Linked DNA regions of Homo sapiens: regions 1, 2, 3, 5, 6 and 7 are each linked to region 4. Evidence: promoter capture Hi-C in human tissues and cell types (Jung and others, 2019). All regions are on one chromosome and are shown on one strand. Each heading gives the region's core, a stretch centred on a gene start or on the middle of the fragment in contact. The rest is flanking DNA. Distances are from core to core; before and after follow the strand shown. Region 1 overlaps ATRNL1 (attractin like 1). Region 2 overlaps ATRNL1 (attractin like 1). Region 3 has its middle 230 kb from the start of SNORD158. Region 4 holds the start of GFRA1 (GDNF family receptor alpha 1). Region 5 overlaps ATRNL1 (attractin like 1). Region 6 overlaps ATRNL1 (attractin like 1). Region 7 overlaps ATRNL1 (attractin like 1).

Region 1 (2,794 bases), core at 118-2,617, 460 kb before region 4:
AAAAAATCAGATTATGAATGAGATTGGGTTGAATCTATGGACCAATATAGGGGGAATTGATATCTGAAGTCTTGTGTCTCTTCTAAGCTACAAGTTAAATAATATTACCTCTTTTATTTAGGTTTTCTTTAACTTCTGTCAGTAATGGATTTTTAGTGAAATATTTTAATAAATTTGTACCTAAATTTTTGATACTACTATAAATGGTAGCTTTTTTCATTTTGATTTCCAATTGTTTGTTACCATTGAATACTGAAATGCAATTAATTTTTGTGGATTTATATTTTTATCTTGTGACATTGCAACACTCAAGTTATTAATTGTAGTAGCTTTTTTGTAGATTCCTTAGGGTTTCCTATGAAACAATATTGTCATCTTCAAATAAACACAATTTTAGTTCTTCCTTTTTCATCTGTATGCCTATTATTTCTTTTACTTGCCTTGTTGCACTGGCTAGGTTGTCTAGTACACTGTGGAATTGAAACGATTCAAACAAATACCCCTACATTATTTCATATATTAGGGGGAAACATTCAGTCTTTTACCATTAAGTATGATGTTAACTTCAGGTTTTGTAAGATGGTCTTTATCAGAGTTTAGGAAATTTTCTATTCTTAGTTTGCTGAGAAATTTTTTTTAGGAATGGATATTGACTTTTAACAATATTTTTCTTATTTTTTGAGAAAATCTTGTGGATTTTACTTAGTATAGTTTGTTATTATGGTAAATTAAATTGATTTGTTTTTCCAATGTCAAATTGACATTGCCTTTTTAGGATTAAGCTCACTTGTCATGACATATGTTTTTTGTGCATGGCTAGATTCAATTTGCCAATTTGTAAAAGGATTTTTACTGAGATGTTGATAAAGTATACTAGTCAGTAATTTTTATTACTTGCCATGTCTTTTGCAACTTTAATATCAGAATAATGCTGGTTTCATGAAATGACTGGGGACATGTTTCCTCCTCATCTGTTTTCTGGAGAGTTTGCATAGAATTGATATTATGTCGTCCTCAAATGTATTTGATAGAAATTGCCCACTGAAGCTGCCTAGTCCTTGGGGTTTTCTGTGGAATAGTTTTAATGACAAATTCTTTTATTTTTCCATAAAAGAACTTGATGGTTTTTATTTGACCTACTAACCTTCGGCCAGGGTAATTTTGACAGTGTCTGTAAGATAATAAAGTGGCAATTATAGTAGTAAGTTTGATTTAAAACACCTTTAACATAAAAAAGAATACTTGTTAATTCTTGGAAGTAAAACCACAAGTGTTTATACATGTGAATATATATAATATTCTTTAATAAATTCTATATCTTTAGTAGATATATGGCTGTTCAAGTTATATAGTTCTTGAGTGAGTTTTGGTATTTTTAGATTTTCCAGGAATTTATTATTTTATCTAAGTTGTCAAATTTATTGGCAGTCTCTTATCTTCTAAATATTCCCTTATTATTTTTTAAAATGTCTGTAGGAACTATAGTGATGTCTTCTCTTTCATTCTTGATATATGTTGTTTCTTTTTCTTGGTCTGTCTGGCTAGAGATTTATCATATTTATTGATATTGTCTGAGAAATAGCTTTTGGGCTTTATGGATTTTTTCCTTTGTTTTTCTATTTTGCATGTTATTGATATTTGTATCTTTATTATTTCCTTCTCTCTCTTTAGGTTTAATTTACTATTCGTTAGTGTCCTAGGAGGGAAGCTTGGAACATTGATTAGAGACATTTTTTCTTTCTTAGTATAAGCATTTAATGCTATAAATTTCCCTTCAAGCATCCTTTAGCTGCATTGCACAAATTTTGACTTGTTATATTTTCATTTTTATTCAATTCACAACTTTTTTCAATTTTCCTTGTGACTATTTCTTTGATCTTTGGCTTATTTAGAAGTGTGTTGTTTCTAAATGTGTCACAATTTTCCAGATTTTTAAATTTATTTTTAGTTTATTTCTATTTTGGTCAGAGAATATTACTCTATGGTTTTTATCTTTTTTAATTTGTTAAGGTTTGTTTTATGGCTGAGAGTATGGTCTGTATGGTGAAGGATTCATTTAGATTTGAATTGAAGGTGTATTCTGCTCTTGTATGGAGTTCTTGAATTGTCAGTTAGATTAGTTTCATTGATAATGCCATTATGTGTTCCACATACTTAGTTCTATATTCTTACTGATTCTTCCTCAGAGAGGAGTGTTAAAAATCTCCAACTATAATTGTAGTCTTATTTATTTCTTCTGTATATTCTATCAGTTTTTGCTTCATGTATTTTGAAGCTCTGTTATCTTTAAGCACATACACATTCAGCTGTCTACTATTAGCTAGAAGCTGATAGGTCTTCTTGATTAATTGACTTCTTTATTATTATATAATGTTATACATTTTCCTGGTACTATTCCTTGATCTGAAGTCGTCTCTTTGTGCCTTTAATATAGCCACTCCAGCTTTCTTTCTTTAATTAAACATTTTTAGATTTCTTTTTTATTATACAGGTAAGAAACATTTAATTATAAAAATATGTGAAAATTTGAAAATACTGATAGTCAAAAATAGGAAGGTAAAATCAGCTGTAAGCTCACTACCCAAAAGTAATCACTGTTAACAACTTTGTGTATATACCTATTTTTAAAAGTTTTATTTTTATGGTAAAATACACATGACATAAAATTTACTATCTTCATTCTTTTTTAGTATACAGTTCAGTGGTATTAAATACATTCATAATGTTGCACATCCATCACTCCAGCTTTCTTTTGTGTTTGCATGAAATTTCTCTACCTTTTTATTTTTAATCT
Region 2 (2,851 bases), core at 308-2,807, 500 kb before region 4:
GGCTGGTGCTTTTAAATAGGAGTCAGAGAAAATATCATGTTGCTTAATATTTAGGCAACTAATTACAAAATTCTCGATTACCAAGTCTCACTGAAGTGTTCCCTTACGAAAACGTGAACTTTATTAGGTATCAACTCATTGACATGGTCCATTTGAAGAAGCAATTTATTAGTCTAATGGTTAACACCTGTTAGATGAAGCTCAAAAATGAAAAAGATTTTAATGAAAAGCAAATGCAGTAAATGCTAGCTTTTAACTGGTTTCATAAAAGATTGAATATATATTCAATATTCTGTATATATATATATACTGTATAAATATACAAAATATATACTCTGTCTGTGTGTGTGTGTGTGTGTGTGTGTGTGTGTGTGTATTACACAAACTCTCCTTTTCCCTGGACAATTTAAGTACATTTTCCCTGTAAGCTAAAAGCCATAAGTATCCCTACAGATATTTTTTGCAAGTGAAATTGCTTTTCATTTGGCAAAAACTAAACCTGTGATTCATAGCAGCTTAGAGCACTCAAGGCCAAAGAGTACATCTTGCTTGCTTTGACTGACATTTTTGCAGGCTAAATCAGACCTGCATGATTCAGCTGTACTGAGATTCATAATGCTGTGAGCAGAGAAATTTGGGGGTGGTATAAAAGAGCATGGAGGGAAATTGTCTTGGAAATTGTGACTACTGACTGAGGCAAAAATCAACCACAGCCAATAGGCGGTTTCAATTGATATTTGATTGGGGAGGCGTTTTCTTGCTACCCTCTTTATACAAAGAACATTAGAGAAATTTTAGTGAAGAAAACTACTACGGAAGCAGAAAAAGAGGGACTTTACTATGAGAAATGAAACTGCAATAGGGAGCAAGAGCAGGGAGAATGACTCTTTTTAACAGTTGTCAGCTCAAATATTAAAGGGAAGTGCACATTGTATATAAAAGGAAAAGTGGCAAAAAATCCATTCCCAAAAAATTTCTCCTAAATGTCTACCATTAGCAATTCATTCCTTTCAGATTTCTTCATTGAGTTCATTCCTCAGTTGCCCTTAAAATTCATATGCCCAGAGGAGTAAAAATCTTCCTACATGAAGTTATTTCCTATCTGGACTACAAAGGGAGCACAAGAAAATTGCTTTGGGAAGTTCAGGCCTCAGGAAAATACGGTGTTTAAAAAAGATTACTATATAGCTTATGCTAACCAACACCTCATTTTTGCTTAATATTTATTTTATTCTGTCTCACTAGTAATATATAAGATATAGCCCAGTCATAATGGATCTTATTCAGGTATGGCTACGTAATCTATGGTACAAAATGTAAGTATGAGCCACTTATTAAACAAATTATTAAGAATTTCAGCAGAGCATTCAGCCAAGCTTAGAGCCCTTCTAAGACTGGGGACCCCTGCACCTGCACAGATCACATGCTCATGAAATCAGCCCTCATTTTATTTGATGGTAGTGAACTGTGTGAATTCCAAACTTAGTTAATGAAAGTGTTTCGTTACAGATTACCTAAATATTTTGGCTTGTAAATGCTCAACACAAATATTAATACCAAAAATTCAAACCCAAATTCTTTTTGGGTTAATTGGAGGCTTTGCAAATCACTAAATTTAACTATTTGTTCCTATCTCCCTCCCTTTTTGTGTGATCTTCTATGGGAAAGTATAGGATTTATGAGGTTACACATTATCATTTCAGATTTGGACCTCTCCCTTAAACCTGAGGTTCAAGAGCCTAATCTTCACTCTCTATTCCTAACTTATGAATCATCTAGCTGAAAATAGCCAAAGACTGCTCTCTAATAGCCACCCCAAACCAGCACTCATCCTAGAATAACCAATAATTTCCCCAGCCCCAGGTGTGGAGTTAGGATGAGTGTGGATAATACCTGGTTGTGCCAAACACTAAAAGTAGATTCACTTTGGGAGGCCGAGGCGGGCAGATCACCTGAGGTCAGGAGTTTGAGACCAGCCTGGCCAATGTGGCGAAACCCCGTCTCTACTAAAAGTACAAAAATTAGCCAGGCATGATGGCAGGCACCTGTAATCCCAGCTACTCAAGAGGCTGAGGCAGAAGAAGCTTAACCCAGGCCACGGAAGTTGCGGTGAGCCGAGATCACACCACTGCACTCCAGCCTGGGCGACAAGAGCAAGACTCCATCTCAAAAAAAAAAAAAAAAAAAAAAAAAAAAATTAGATTAGTGAAAGCTAGGGGTGGCTTTGGGCAAGGTGCTCTGAGGGCCCAGATAATAGGGAAATTAAGCCTATAAGAGTCTTGATCACCTAAGCTATAAAAAACACTTCTGGGTAGAAGAAGTTTTTACATTCCAATTCAAACTTGAGTATGCTGCTGTTTAAGCCAATATTTATTTCCTCTTAGCATATGTTTCAACTTTAGTACCGTCCAACAATAAGATACGTATTCTCTATTAAAATCTCCCTCTTCATCTTTTGTTGACACAGCACTATAATTAGTATCACATAATTCCTACCACTGACAGAATGCCCCAGAATATTTTGTCTTATTTTTTTTTCAAGATTAGCTAGCACTTATAACACTTCTTGCTAACGTTTCACTCAGTTATAGTTGGAGTTAGTGAAGTCATGGTTTGTTTTTTTTTTTATGTAAAGCTGTCTTTTCTTCTTCTCACCCCCATCCCACAGGCATCAAAGGAAGTTAAATAAAAGAATGACTATTGTGACGTTGACTAATAGTCATAAGACATTAGCTAAGAAATGAATACCATTGAGGTTTTGAATGATCAGCTGTTAATTTTTAAGATTATACTTTAGAAAATAATAAATCCTGCTTTTGATGAGATGTCCATTAAAAAACTTATTTTAAAA
Region 3 (2,934 bases), core at 205-2,704, 310 kb before region 4:
GGCCCCATGATGCATGTCCTGACAACATCCCCGTGGCCATCGCTTTGGTTCTTTGGTCTGTGCTTTTGTGATTTGGTTTAAACACTCACGTCCTGATGAGCTCTGGCTGAAGTCTCATCCCTCACTGGAGAAAGCAGAGTGCAGGCTGGAGCCCAGCAGGCTAGTGCAGACCCCTGTTCTACCACTTCCTGGCGCCGATAAATTGGGGAAGTCACTTAACCTCAGAAAGGCTCTTTGTAAAATTAGGATATAAAATTAGGAGATAGTAGTTTCTTGTGATGGTTTCGGTGATGATGTTCTGAGATAATGCCAGTAATGCTTAAGCCTTAAAAATGATTCTTATCCTTCAGCATCTTTCATCCTGGTGCCACTTAACCAGGGATCCTGCAACCAGCACAGCCTAGCGCATAGTAGGTGCACCGGTATTGTTTAGCGTGAATGAAAGAGTGAGCTGGCGCACCCAAATAAGAATGCAGGGAGACTGAAGGCAGGGAATATTCAGGGAAATAATCCTTTCCCCCTTTCTTTAGTCCTGATCTGACTTTAAACTTGGCTTGAGGAATTCCTACAACTGAGTTTTATTGACCTGGATGTTGCCTGCATTTCTAGTTTGCTTCACACCATATGGGATTCAAAGCGAGTTTTGTAAATTCATTAATTCCTTCACCCTTGCGTTCTTGGAATACTAAGTTTCTGCTACCTGCCAAGTCCTTTTCTAGGCACTAAGGACATAAGCAGTGAACAAAATAGACAAAAATTCATTTATTCATGGAGTTTACATTCTAATGGAAAGAGATAATATAAGTAACTAAATAATATAGTGTAATGAAAGGTAAGTGCCATGAGGAGGAAAAGCAGAGGAGGGTGGGGATGGCTGGTGGTCAGGAAGGGACTCACAGAGACAGTGACTTGTATGGTTTGGCTCTGTGTCCCCACCCAAATCTCATCTCGAATTATAATCCCCACGTGTTGAGGGAGGGAGGGGATTGGATCATGGGGGTGGTTTCCCCCATGCTGTTCTCATGATAGTGAGTGAGTCCTCACCAAATCTGATGGTTTTATAAAGCAGTTTTCCCTGCTCTTGCTGGCTGTCTCTCACCTGCCACCAAGTATAATAAGGCGTGCCTACTTCCCCTTTTGCCATGATTGTAAGTTTCCTGAGGCCTCCCCAGCCATGTGGAACTGTGAGTCAATTAAACCTCTTTTCTTTATAAATTACCCAGTCTCAGGTATGTCTTTATAGTGTGTGAAAATGAACTAATATAGTGACATTTAAACAAAAACGGAAAGAGGTGAGGAAACAAAGCTTGCCTTCATCTGGAAGAACGTTCAGAAGGAGAGCCAGAAGACAAGGCAACCGGTACAAAGGCCCTGGGGTTACTGTATGCCTGGCTTGCTGGAGTCTACTGTGCCCAAAGCCCAGTAAATAAGGGGAGGGCATGACGGCCAAGCAGAGCTTTGTGGGCCTTGGGGCCACTTTGCACTTAACTTTTGACTGTGAGTGAGGTGGGACCATTGAAAGGTTTGGAAGATAGCAGTTGTATCATCTGACTTGCTCGCCACTGTACCTGTGATATTTGGGATAAAGATATCAATAAGTTGGTCTTACTATACCCTCAATCAAATAGTATAAAACAGCCTCAAAAACTTACATTAAAAACATTATCTAGAATAAAAGTACCAAATACCTTTGCTGAAAAAAATGGTGTGGAGATGGTAATGTCAGTACCAATTTTCTTTTATAACTTTTAATGGCTGTAATTTAACAGTAATTCTTTCATATCACCAATACAAAGTACTCGAAATTTGCACTAAATATTCTATGCCCATAGCATAGAAAACAGTTCTCATGATCTTCATTACTGTCCATTTTTAAATCTCATTTTATGCAACTATCTGAAATGTTTTACACTTTACTAAAGTATAGCATAGAGAGAGAAAAGCATGCCAATAGTTAGGGTACAGCTAGATGAAATTTCTCTTTAGCCAGGACCAGAGCAAGAATCACAGCATTTCGGCCTCCCCAGAGCAACCCTGTGACTTCTTCCTCCTTGTCTGCCTCCCACCCAAGGGTAACTGCTTTCTTGACCTCTATCTCCATAGTCTAAACTGGCTTACTTGTAAACTTCATGTAAATGGATGATGACATATTTTCTCTTTCCTGTCTGACTTCTTTTGCTCAACATTATGTTTGTGAGATTCACCTATGTTGTGGCGAGTAGTGGTTTGTTCTCTCTGCTGTGTCATCGTGCGGAAGGACTATAGTGTGTGTATTAGTCCGTTCCCACACTGCTAATAAAGACATACTTGAGACTGGGTGATTTATAAAGGAAAGAGATTTAATTGACTCACAGTTTAGCATGGCTGGGGAGGTCTCAGGAAACTTACAATCAGAGCAGAAGGGGAAGCAAACATGTCCTTCACATGGCAGCAGCAAGGAGAAGTGCAGAGCAAAGGAGGGGAAAAGCCCCTTATAAAACCGTCAGATCTGGTGAGCATTCACTCACTGGCACGAGAACAGCATGGCGGAAACCGTCCCCATGATTCAGTTACCTCCCACTAGGTCCCTCCCATGACATGTGGGGATTATGGGAACTACAATTCAAGATGAGATGTGGGTGGGGACAGCAAAACCATTATCAGTGTGTATCCATTCTGTTGTTAATGGGCTCTGTTGAACGCTCTCGAATAGTGCTGCCATAAGCATCCTTACACAGGTCTTCGGGGGACCGTGCACACATTTCCAAGTGGTATCAAGAGGTGTGCTGTTTAGCTTGAGTTCCGTTACATGTTTTAAGAGAACCACTCTGGCTTGCTAAGTATGGATTAAAAAGTGCCAAGGGACAGGAATAGATAAAGGACATGAATGACAAGTCTTGGGGACAATCTGGGGGAGGTGAGGGTTGATTGGATCAGAATGGAAGCAGTCTGGAT
Region 4 (2,748 bases), core at 205-2,704:
TGGGTCATTAAAAACCACAGGAAATCAAAACCAAGCCCGAAAAGCTTCAGGCAGCGCCGCGCCGCCACCGCCTCCCTAACCCGGGGATTCGCGATCCCATTCCCCAAAAAGACACTTCTTCCTTCCACATCCACCACACCCGCGCCCCAATTTTGGTGCGGAGGGCGGGGTGGGCTGCTGCAAGCGACCCTAGGAAAGACTCAGAGGGTAAGAAAGCCCGCGGCGGGCCTCGACTTACCCAAGAGCGGCAGCGCGAAGTACAGGGTCGCCAGGAACATGGTGCCGGCGCGGGGCTGGTCCCCGCCCCCCCAAAAAAATCCCGAGCCGCCGCTGGGTCTTGCCGAGGGAGCTCAGCGTGCAGCGATCCCCGGACAGCTGTGCTGCTCTGGCCGCCCAAAGTTCAGCTCCATCCAGTGAAAGAGGAAACTCCGGGTCTGGCAGCAGCCACCGCCGCCGGCGACTCAGCTCCGGGATGGCGAGGGCGGGAGGCGGTTCCGCTTTTAGGGGTTCAGGTCCGACCCAACCTGGAAGGGAGGGCGCGCTTTGAGATGAGAGCGGAGAGCGCCGGAGACTCCCCCCACAGAACCCTCTCCCCTCCCCCGTTCCCGCCTTTGGGGAATTTCCAACACCGGGGTGAGGACCCACCCCCACCCAGGTCGGGGTGCATGTGCGTGTTTTCCAGGGGCCGCTGACACGGGGATGGAGGTGAGGGCTGGAGAGGTCTGAAGAGGGTTCCTAAAGTCCAAGGGGGTGTCTGTTGGGTTCAACCCGAGACGCTGAACGCAAGCAAATAAATAAATAAACGGTACTTTCCGAGCGTCGCGAGCGGAGCCTGCAGCTGCCTGGAGTCCGAGCCCTCGGTGGCGGCGGCGGCAGCTCCCTAGCCAGCCCTGGCGCCGAAAGAGCCCCTTCTCCCGGGAAGTTGGCCTCCCCCTCCTCGCGTCAGCCAGCGAGCTCGCTCAGCCGCCGGCCCTCCCCACTCCGATCGCCAATCCCTAGCCCCAGTCGCCGCCCTCCTTCTCCCCGGGACTCGTCTCCCTCCAGAGGCCGCCAAGCCAGGGGGAACCGATGTCCCGACTGGGGCTGAAACCCGGTTCCTGCGCCCCTACCCCCTACCCGCCGCGCGTCCTCGGCTCCCTCCTGGGCGTCCGCTCCTCTCACACTCTCGCCCGGTGCCCAGGACTCGGGCGCTTCCGCACCCCAGCCCAGGGCGAGCGCGCCGGCCCGCAGTCCCGGCGTGCCCCGGCAGGTGCAGCCCGGCGCCACGAGCGCCCCCCGGGCCCTAAAGTTGGGAGACGCCAGCAAAAAGAAAGGGGTGGCCGGAGGAGGGGGGAAGAAGGAGTGGGGAAGAGGGACGGGAAGCGGCAATGGGTTCCCAAACAGAACGAAAAAAACTCCAAATGCCACCAACCTGGACTCAACCGACCGCGTCCAGCTGCGGCGAGGAGCCAGTTTGTTTATTTACTTATTTATTCTTTCAGGGCAATGGTGTCCCCGCCCCCTCCTTCCCTTTCCGGGCTCACTTTATCTGCGCTAGGAAAAGAAAAAAAAGAAAAAAAAATAGATGCGGTAATCTTCGAGAGCTCGAAGGGCCGAGTTGGGCCAGGACGATTTCCGAGCAGAGCCCTCGGCTCGGATGCTCGTTAGGGATGTTAGTGGTTATTGGAAGCGGCGCGGAGAATGGCGTGTTCCGAGGCCAGATTTCTTCTGGCCAGAGGACCCTCGGCCTGCTCCTGTTCCCGCCGCTCCGCAGCTCCAGCTCCCTCCTAAGCTCGCCCGCCAGGCAGCCGCAGCTGCACACGCCCGCTTGCGGTGGGACCCGCGGCCGGACCCGTACTCGCGCACAGGACACGCAGTGTTCTGCAGCCGGCCGCGGGTGCTGCCAGACACACACACTCTCTCTCTCTCTCTCTCTCTCTGTCTCTCTCTCTCTCTCTCTCTCTCACACACACACACAGACACACACACACACATACACGGGCACAAGGGCTCTTTCTTCTTAGGGCAATCGAGCCAGACCCTTCTTCGGAACACAAAGTTTTCCCCCACGTCACTAGTGGCTGTGATTCAAGACTTGGTGCTTTCAAGACACACTCAGACCCAGGACGCTGGAGCGGCGATCCTGGGATGCGCCCATCCGTTCGTCCACGCCAGCGCGTGCACACTCACACTCACACGCACACATGCACACGCAGTCTCTACCTCTCTCCTGGAGCTCCGACAAGGAGACAAAAGCGGAGCCCCCAGCCCACTGCATTTAAACCCGGCCAGACCTGGCTTTAGAAAATTTATAAGCTGACCTCCATTTTGGCTGTTTCGAGAGTAAATTAACAACAACAAAAAAAGCCTAACATGTACACAGCCCTTCGCCCCAACCCCTGGGACCGCTGGTTCCCAGTCGTGCTGCTCACCCCCCGCCCCCCACGCCTGACACACGCTCCCCTTCCCGCACGCCGGGGGGCGCCCGGGGCACCGAAGTCTACACTGGGTCGGGAGACCGGTCTAGGAGCCAGCCGGCAGTGCTCGGGATCTTTGCTGATGTCCAAGTTCATCTCTCGGGGAGACCGAGTTTGAATCAAATCTGCGTGCGCCCAGCTGTCAAATCTGCAAACCTATCACGCCAGACAATGGGCCGCCGCGGAGGACAGACAAGAATGGCTCATTTTGATCGAGGGGGGTAAATTGAAAAGGGCACGGGCTTTGGTTGAAGTTTGAGGCCCGGGTGTCAGGGCGGGGAGAAGAAGAGGA
Region 5 (2,947 bases), core at 5-2,504, 440 kb before region 4:
GTAGTAAAGGCTGCTCTCACCACCTCACATAGTAGCTGCAAGAGTCAAGTGAGTTTTTTTTTTTCAAGTGAGATTTTTAAAAAGCTTTGTCAATTGTTAGGTGCTTTAAAAAAGTCAACAGAGAGTGTTATAACTGAAAGAGATACTTTAAAATTGCTATAGCTACCTGCTATTAACTAAAGGCATTAAGAAACTTGAAAACCAACACCAAGAAAAAGAGTATAATTAAATTCCCCGACAAATAGTAATTTCATCTTATTCAAATAGTCTTCTTCTGAAGTGATCTCAGAAAATATGGAGCTATTTACAGGATTAATATGTCCTAACTTCCCTTTTATGAGGTAAATAAAGGGGGAAAAAGCTAAGGTCATAGAAAATTTGAGGGTTATTGGTTGCCAGAATTGGCAAAATTAATTTATATTTCTGCTTTGAAACCTGTTTAGTTTCTGTAGAAAGGGGAACTTTTCAAATTAAAACTGTAGTCTGGGTCAGAAAGCTATCAAATAGCCAAGGTAAAATAGGGAGGAATCCAGGATTTTCCCACCATTCACTCGTGCTGTTGACTCCTGCCTTGTGGGCCTCATCTTGGTCAGGAGCTGCCACTCACCTTTTCTCACCTGCAGAGGCTCCACCAACCTAAGTGGGAAGATTGGCTTCTGTTACCAAGAAGCAGAGCATAATGCTAAGGGAAGGATAGAAAACCCTTTCTGTTGTGTTTCTTCTATACTTGCTCATCATTTGACATTGTTTTTGCACTCCCTTCATTCCTTCAAATCTCATAGACTTTCTGGATTCTGAGTCTCAGACCTTGAACTACAACGTATGCGTCTGTCTGTCTCCTGTGGTATGTCATTACTTCCAGATGCTAGTATGGAAAGTGGGGAAGAATTAGGCATTGGAATTATGATAAGTCTGAGTCCAAGTCTCGACTCTTCCACTCTCCTTGCACAGGCAAAGGAAACATTAGGTATTCAAAAATGGCCACTATTATTATGTATGTCACTTCTAAACCCACAACTGATTTATCCATTCTCTAACCCTTTACTTTTGCTGTCCTTGCTTGCTTGCTTCAAAGCCACCCCTTCTTGATCCTGCATCTCTGTCTCAACCTTTTATCTGATACTCACACCTGAATCCCCTGCCCCAGCTCTGACAAGATCATGAATTAGAGTTTCATTGTAGAAAGATCTATGGTGAAGAGATGCAATGAAGTATCAAGGTAATTCCCTTCTAAATGGAAAATGACCATCACAAGTATTTTTATGTCCCAGTATTTCATTTTAGTGAGATTTTTAAAAATTCCTTCAGGACATGTAAGAGGAGAAAAAAAAAGAAATTCAAATAGCAAACTAAGAATGTATGGTGTTCATTTGTAATAAGCAGGAAAGTTAAATATATTTTTAAGGAGATAAAGGAGCTAAATCATAACATAGCTGCCATTCATTGAATGCCTACTGTATGCAATACAATATACCAGGTGCTTTAAATAAGTTATTGAGTTTACTCGTTGCAAAAACCCTATCAGTAATTAGCACTATTATTATTCTCTTTTATAGGTGAAGAAATTTGGGCCTAGAAAGATTAGTCTAGTTACCTAAAGTCACGTGATCTGTATGTGGTAGAGCCAAGATTCAAACTTGATTTTACTTTTCACGGCATAGCGTGCTCAATGTAGAACCAGCCTGCAAGAGTTTCCTCAAAGGCTGTGTCACACCAGGGCCACATATAAGCTCCTGGGCTATTCTATCATAAATCAGAAGATACAGGCTAAGTTATAAGAATAAGTTATTATTATAGTAAGAGTGTATGCTATGTTAAACAGACCATTAAAATGATAAAATTAAATAATAATCACTGACATTTATTGAACACTTGCCCTACGCCAGGCAGTACTCTAAATGCTTTGTAAGTATCAATTTAGTTTATCCTTACAACAATCCAGTGAAGTACATATTATAATTATTGCCATTTTACAGATGAGGAAATTGAGCACAGAGAGTTAAGAAACATGCCCAAGTAAGCGGCAGTTAAGAATTAATTCTAGGCAATAATGTACCAGAGCCCACATGTTTACCCTCTATCCAATACAAACTGCCTAGTTAATTTAATCCTGTGTTCTAATTCTTTTGAATTCTAATATAAAGCACATTATCTTGTAAAGCTTTAGTTTAAAGGTCTGCCACATAAGCAACAGGGCCTGCTCTTCACCATATGTGTTCATAATCTGGATAATTCCCTGATGGGGATCATTTGGAGCAAACATTTCTTATGGAATGATTTTCTATGACTGTGCTATGCTCAACTGCCGGAGCACTTCACTGCTATACCTCAATGGAATGCCAGCGACCGACTGTCTTTCTATCTACAGTTAATTTGGTGGCTACCGCTATGCTCTCAGGAGCCAGTTGTCTATCATATCCCTGCATACCCCACACCTTTAGTCCACTCCAAGAACTTGCTCCCCACAGTAGGCCTGTGAGTCTGAGGTTATATACTCTTATTCTACTGGCATCCCATTAGAAACTACTTTCTGCGGCTCCAATATTCCTTCTTTATTTTGTCACTTGGGATTTCAATCAGATATTTTAAAGCTTCCTGTCCTTTGAGCCATATTATTTTAGATTCTCTAATGGTGGGATTATACCTGTAATTTTTTCTGAACTTTTTGAAACCCACTTCCCTAAGTTTAGTATATATGTCTGAATCCATAAGGCTCAACAACTCTTCTTTTCTGACCCAATCGCCTACTTCTCCCTTGCCTCTCAGACTCTTCCACCTTGTTTGCAAAGTTTGTTTGCCTGTCTCTAGGCAAACCTCTATATTTTATTGGAATGTTCCCTTTACCATTTTGCTCTGGTAAGGTAATATGATCAGTTTCTACTTGTTTTGAATAGAATGAGATTGCCAACAGACAGGCAGCTGTTGTCGGATTTGGAATCTGTATTAG
Region 6 (2,916 bases), core at 174-2,673, 400 kb before region 4:
AAGGCTTTCAATAATTGCATCGATCAGTTAAAGGTGTTGATCCAGATGCAAATAACTGCTGGAATGGCTAATGACAAGGTTCTGGAAATGTACTAGGAATTACTCAAGACAGAAGGTCTGAGAGGATCAAAATTGGTATCCAGAAATGGCACCACCACTCTCCCCTCTTTCACTGTTTCCATCTTCATGTCTCCTCCACAGCTCTTCATGCTTGTCAACTTGGGGAAAGTCATGGTTGATGCCCTTCTGACAGCCTGCTGGAGAAGATCTGTTGCCTTTTCTGGCAGTCAGTGACGTCTTCTGCCACAACTGGGCTTTACTCTATGGCTTTCTTAGAAAGCAGCATCCATAGCTGGAGGAGCCTTGAGCTCACTGGACTGAGTCCTTTCAGCTTGAAGCTGACCTCCCTGATTGCCCTGCCTCTCCATTGCAGTTTCCGTTCTCACACTGACCAATACTAATTGAAGGAGATAGCATCACCTACTGGTAATCAGGTCCCTGCCTTGTCTTAGGTTGCCATCCAATAACAACTTGAGAATTTATAAAATATTGTTTTTCTTTACAGGTGTTTCTTGAGTTTGTTTCTCAAGTACTAAGCACTATCAGAGAAAGAAATCAATGTTAATTATACACAAACTGTAGGAATACAAAAGAACATTTAGATAATCACTTCTCTGAAGGAAACTACAATCTCTTCAGGCAGATAATAGATAATATGGGTATCTTCCATTTCTACAAAAGATAAAAATGTAGGTGAGAGAGAAAGAGCACTTACTAAAAGTTAAATGGAGTCAGCAGAACCTGAGATTTCCAAGTGATAGAAACCTGGACAGGCAGCAGAGGTGGAGAAGCACAGTCTAAGTGGAGAGTCACATGAGCAAAGGAGACTCAGAAATCAGAGTTCTTTGGAAGTGGGAGGTTGCTAAGAAAGATCGAAAATGCCAGGAAGGCCCTTACTTCCAAGATGAGCTTGAATTTGATCTGGTAGGAATTGGGAAACCATTTTGGATTTCTGAGCAGGGATCCAAGCTTTAAATGCACAGTTTTGAGGACATTTACTTTTCTGGAGTATACAAACTCAGCTGTTAAAGAGTGGGATCAGAAGCTAAAGATCAGCTAGGAAAAATTACAGTAATCCAGGCAGGTGAGGGTCTAGATTGCAGCAGAAAAAGAGAGTCTCTGATGAATTCAAAAGTTATTGGAAAGTGGAAATTGATAGGACTTGGTGACAAATTGAATTAAATTGACTAATCATTTATTATTTTGTGCATCTCAGCATTCTACATCTCTACCAGTGAACTCATTAAAGAGATTTTTATGTTAATAGCGAAGTTTTTAATGTAAGTTGATTTGAGAGATCTTTTCTGGTTGAATACAGTTGGCAGGCTGTTGGATTTAGTAGGCAAGGCCACATTTATCTGGCATCATTAAAATTAGGTAACCTAAATAAATAAAATATTTAGACAATTGAAGCTTGCTGTCATTGCCCAATTTGGGGAGGCAGTCCAGAGGGACTGGCCAGATCAGATACCATTCTGTGGATAAGTTATCCTGAGGGACAAGTGGAGAAACAAATTCAGGGGCACTTTTTCTAAGAACGGGAAGGGGACTCCCAAAGAAATTCCCCAAACTAAGACATCAGTCTCTGAGACAAAATAGAACATGAAATGAGGATAGAGATTCAAGGATCTAAGTAGTCCATTCATTAATGAAATAATATTACTTATGTGCATTGAGTACCTACTTCCGTGCTGAAAGCTTTGCATAGGTCATTTGTTTTACTTGTATGTATTGAGCACTTACTAGGTGTTGGCTGAGCAAAGAACCTAACAGGTATGTTCCCAGCCCTTATAGAGCTTATAGTCTGGTGTGGGAGATAGTCATCAAACAAATAATTATACAAATACATACTTAGTTACAAATTGTGATCATTGCAGTAAAGGGAAATATAGAGTGGCATGGAGGTAAAACAAGGGTTCTCCACTTAGATTTCACAGTCAAAAATGGTGTTCCTGAGTAAATAATATTCTAGCAGAAACTTTGAAGGATGACTGGGAATTAGCCAGGCAAAGACTAAAAGGATGAGTGTCAAGGACACTGAAAGGCAAAGTAGGAGATCAAATACTGGGAATCTTGAAGTCGGAAGTAGGTATTTGGTTTAAGCTTTGGAGCAAGGTGAAACTGGAACCTGGAATGGCTGTAATTACAAATTGTCCTCAGATTACCCAGCTCAGAATCTACAGACACACGCTAAATGAAAAAGGCAGCATATTTAATGGTCAGAACATCACAACATACAATTTGCAGTCAGATGAATGTGGACCACTTCTTGGGTGTTTTATCCTGGGAAGACACTTACCCTTTCTCAGCTTTAATTTTTCATTCTGTACAATGGGGCTAATACTACTTATCTCTTGGGGATTGTGAAAGGCTCAAATGAGATAATGTCTGTAATATACTTAATTCAGTACCTGACAGACAATATATGCTCTTCCTTCATGTCACCAAGTCTTTTGTTATTCTATTTAATTCATATTTATTTTGATAACAACATGAAGATACCCACATACCTAGCAAAATGTAGGAACTTTATAACAGGCATTTTCTTTGCTGCTCAGAAGCTTATCTGAGTCTTTTCCACCTATTCCCTGATCTGTAATTGTGTTTCATATTTTTGAGGCTCTCTGAAGTGAAATCTCCAGATTGGGAAAGGGTTAAGGGATTCATATGTAAATAGACATAGAATTCAGTGTGTGCTCAATTAAGATTTGATGAATGAATGATTACTGTATAATTATAGAGATCTGACAGTGATAACCATAGTTAATTCATTGCTAAGGTCGTGTACATTGAAAAATAATTTTAAAGCATTTTTTAGTAATTTGTGTTTTTAAGTTGTTAGTAAACTAAATTGCA
Region 7 (2,833 bases), core at 126-2,625, 370 kb before region 4:
AAGTCCTCAAGCCAATCACCTGCCAGCAAAGTTTCACATCAGGCAGGAATGGACCCTGTACCACTACTCCCACCAGGCTCAGCATTGGTTGGCTGGGACCATCCTGGAAGAATTTGGCAGCACCGCACATGGTGCTGGATCCAGAGGGGTGGCATTTGGGGTTTTGAGTCAACTGTGCTCCCCTCCACAGGAAATCTGACTAGCACCTTTTTAGGCCACCACTCTCAGCTGTTTGTTTTCCTCCTGCAGTGTGGCTGTTGCCCTCAGAAGAGATCAGCAACCTGTCAAGACAGTCTTACTCCTACTGGCCATTCTCCCAGGGCCAACTAATGCTGCTTTGGCAGTCACCATGGGATCACTATAGACAGTGTGGATTTCCCCCTCACAAGCTCTGAGATTAATGACACCTGTACATCCATGAAATTAGCTCCAAGACTATACTGTAGCCAAGGCTCAAAATCTATTTCCTATTCCCCATTTCAAATTATATATAGTCATGTTTCTAAAAGACAGCATAACAGGTTGTAGAGATCAAACAACCTGATTAAGATATTTAATCGACTGTCAACATAAAGATGCCCTAAGTTTGAATACAAACTCCCTACCATTTTCAAATTCCTGGAGAGAAATTTAAGTCCAAATATTCAATCACTTTACAAATTAAAGTCCAAAGAACATAAAGTCTGCAATCAGATTCTCTTATCCTAGTGAGCTAAATTTTAAAAATATATATCCACAGTTTATTCTCTCCAATTTTTGATATTGCTCAGTGCCAGGTACTGGGGTTATTGATACATAAGACGAGTTAGGATTGCTTGAACAGCTTCAGCCTGGAGTTTCTATCACTCGGATGGATGTAGTCCCTTCAGTGCTTCATAAATTACAGCTGAAGTCTGAAAGAGTTCAAAATAAATCCTTAAAAATCTCAAGATTATTATTGGCCTGGCACTTACCCAAACGAGAAAGTGAGCTAGTCCCCAGCTACTAAAGTAATTAGTCTAGTGCCCAGGGTTACTAAAACTGTAGCAGAGATTGAGTGCTAAGTGAGTAAAGGAGAGTAGTTGGAGAAAATATTGGTTTTAGTCTTTTTTTCCTTTGAAGACAGGGTCCTACTCTGTCACCCAGGATAGAGTACAGTGGTGCAATCATGGCTCACTGCAACCTCAACCTGCCAGGCTCAAGCGATCCTCGTACCTCAGCCTCCCGAGTAGCTGGGACCATATGCCTATACCACCACACCCAGCTAATTTTTTTTTTTTTTTTAAGTTTTGTAGAGGCAGGGTCTTCCTATGTTGCCCAGGTTGGTCTTGAACTCCTGGGCTCAAGTGATCCACCCACCTCGGCCTCCCAAAGTACTGGGACTACAGGCGTGAGCCACTGTGCCTGGCTGGTTTTAGTCTTCCAACAATTCCAGTCAGGCTATATCTGATGCCCAGAATCTATGACCTGTGAATATAAATTCAACGGAAAGAAATCTTTCCATAAGAGGTTAACTAGACCCTATACATTTGTATTTATGGGAAAAAGTCATCCGTGTAAATGGTCAACTCCAGTAAATGTTCTTGAAAATGGTCTACTCCAGTAAATGTTCTTAACCTGGTTATTCCCCTTTCAAAGCACTCATCTGGAGGCCAAGAATCACATCTGTCATGAGCACCATGGAATCCCTGGCATCCAGCCCCATGCCTAACATAAAGGAGGGACTTGATAAATAATTGTTTTTATGAAAAGAACTTAAGAGAAGTTAATTCCTCCTCATGTCATTCAAGCTTCTATATCAGCTTAGTTGAAGAATAGCCTGGTTTATAGGGTGAACTGTTAAAACTCTTTTAAAATTTACAACTGTGCAATGCAGGGTTTTCTTAATACTATGTAACAATAACAAAAAAATAAATCAAGCTCTGAGACTAGCATAACTGTGACTAACTTCCATAAGCTTTGATTTCCAAATTCTATGTTAATCACTATACCCACATTATTCTCATTGATTGACTTTACAACAAGTAAATATTTACTGTTATGACTGTGTTTTAAAAATTATAATTATAACTTATATTTACCCTAATAAAATAATACATTTAACATGCATGATTTTGTTTTAAAGCTAGGTTTCTGCTAATAAAGTTTGAAAACTACTGGCTTGGCGAAAGTAAAATTGGCTTTGAGGGTGAGAATTTGATCTGGATTCAGATTTCTCTCTGCCTTAACATATTTTAGACTCAGGTAACTATTTTGTAAAATGGGAATGATTATATATACCTCAAAATTTGTTTCAGGATTGAGAAAGTTCAGTAAGAAAATCTTAAAAGGCCCTGGCACAGAGCAGGCTCTGTGTCTTGTTTTCCTCCTCTCTTAACAAATGCCTTTATTCAAAACAATCACAGTAGATTATACAGGCCTACAGACAAAATAGGCATTTAGTAAATCTGCTGATTAATTTCATTTTTCAATATTTGAAGATATTTTCATTAAACAATTTTAACTGTAAGTGGGTTAAACAGTTTTCATTATTAGAATTGACTACTTTCTTCAAAGTTTTCGTATTACTTTATTCATACCTGGGTTCCAGTACATGCCTCCCCCTAGAATTTCAGCACCTAGAGTACAGGATTATATCCTAGACTTCATCTTTACAGTGAAGGCCATATAATTGAACTTCGTAAATTTTGAACAAATACTTTTTTTAAAAAAAAATCAGAAACCTATATATAAAACTACTTATGTACCAGCGCTTTGTAAATATTAATTCACTTAATCTTTATAATCCCCTGAGGTTGGTACAGGTTATCCGAAATGCTTCAATGAGCATTTCCTTTAAATATGATGTTTGAGT

What was found. The method cuts DNA at HindIII sites, captures the fragments that hold promoters and counts their contacts. A contact is called where the count stands out against the background at its distance.
Region 1: a contact is called between a fragment that was not itself captured here and the fragment with the promoter of GFRA1 in region 4, in 4 of the 25 tissues and cell types used here (bladder, dorsolateral prefrontal cortex, heart right ventricle and 1 more).
Region 2: a fragment that was not itself captured here is called in contact with the fragment with the promoter of GFRA1 in region 4 in 2 of the 25 tissues and cell types used here (IMR-90 fibroblasts and aorta).
Region 3: a fragment that was not itself captured here is called in contact with the fragment with the promoter of GFRA1 in region 4 in 1 of the 25 tissues and cell types used here (thymus).
Region 5: a contact is called between a fragment that was not itself captured here and the fragment with the promoter of GFRA1 in region 4, in 5 of the 25 tissues and cell types used here (IMR-90 fibroblasts, bladder, dorsolateral prefrontal cortex and 2 more).
Region 6: a contact is called between a fragment that was not itself captured here and the fragment with the promoter of GFRA1 in region 4, in 3 of the 25 tissues and cell types used here (H1 embryonic stem cells, dorsolateral prefrontal cortex and hippocampus).
Region 7: a fragment that was not itself captured here is called in contact with the fragment with the promoter of GFRA1 in region 4 in 4 of the 25 tissues and cell types used here (hippocampus, lymphoblastoid cells, mesendoderm cells and 1 more).

What each region holds. Positions count from the first base shown.
Region 1 is chr10:115,809,358-115,812,151 of GRCh38, forward strand. The region is part of intron 27 of ATRNL1 (attractin like 1); the gene reads left to right. Among named protein-coding and RNA genes, the nearest start is that of SNORD158, 380 kb to the right of the region's middle. The HindIII fragment of the contact is 3,822 bases long and covers 1-2,794 here.
Region 2 is chr10:115,772,258-115,775,108 of GRCh38, forward strand. The region is part of intron 27 of ATRNL1 (attractin like 1); the gene reads left to right. Among named protein-coding and RNA genes, the nearest start is that of SNORD158, 420 kb to the right of the region's middle. The HindIII fragment of the contact is 5,015 bases long and covers 1-2,851 here.
Region 3 is chr10:115,965,404-115,968,337 of GRCh38, forward strand. No RefSeq gene overlaps it. Among named protein-coding and RNA genes, the nearest start is that of SNORD158, 230 kb to the right of the region's middle. The HindIII fragment of the contact is 4,561 bases long and covers 1-2,934 here.
Region 4 is chr10:116,271,752-116,274,499 of GRCh38, forward strand. GFRA1 (GDNF family receptor alpha 1) reads right to left here and starts at 1,455. Exons shown (of 11, transcript NM_005264.8): 1 at 1,412-1,455; 2 at 239-524. The coding sequence starts at 278. It overlaps LOC107984273 (a long non-coding RNA gene), which reads left to right and starts at 2,258. Exons shown (of 2, transcript XR_001747598.2): 1 at 2,258-2,748. RefSeq lists an enhancer at 1,620-2,457 and a silencer at 1,666-1,960. The HindIII fragment of the contact is 12,805 bases long and covers 1-2,748 here.
Region 5 is chr10:115,831,715-115,834,661 of GRCh38, forward strand. The region is part of intron 27 of ATRNL1 (attractin like 1); the gene reads left to right. Among named protein-coding and RNA genes, the nearest start is that of SNORD158, 360 kb to the right of the region's middle. The HindIII fragment of the contact is 3,651 bases long and covers 1-2,947 here.
Region 6 is chr10:115,873,882-115,876,797 of GRCh38, forward strand. The region is part of intron 28 of ATRNL1 (attractin like 1); the gene reads left to right. Among named protein-coding and RNA genes, the nearest start is that of SNORD158, 320 kb to the right of the region's middle. The HindIII fragment of the contact is 3,414 bases long and covers 1-2,916 here.
Region 7 is chr10:115,904,141-115,906,973 of GRCh38, forward strand. The region is part of intron 28 of ATRNL1 (attractin like 1); the gene reads left to right. LOC105378497 (a long non-coding RNA gene) reads right to left here. Exons shown (of 4, transcript XR_001747597.3): 4 at 814-893. Among named protein-coding and RNA genes, the nearest start is that of SNORD158, 290 kb to the right of the region's middle. The HindIII fragment of the contact is 3,357 bases long and covers 1-2,833 here.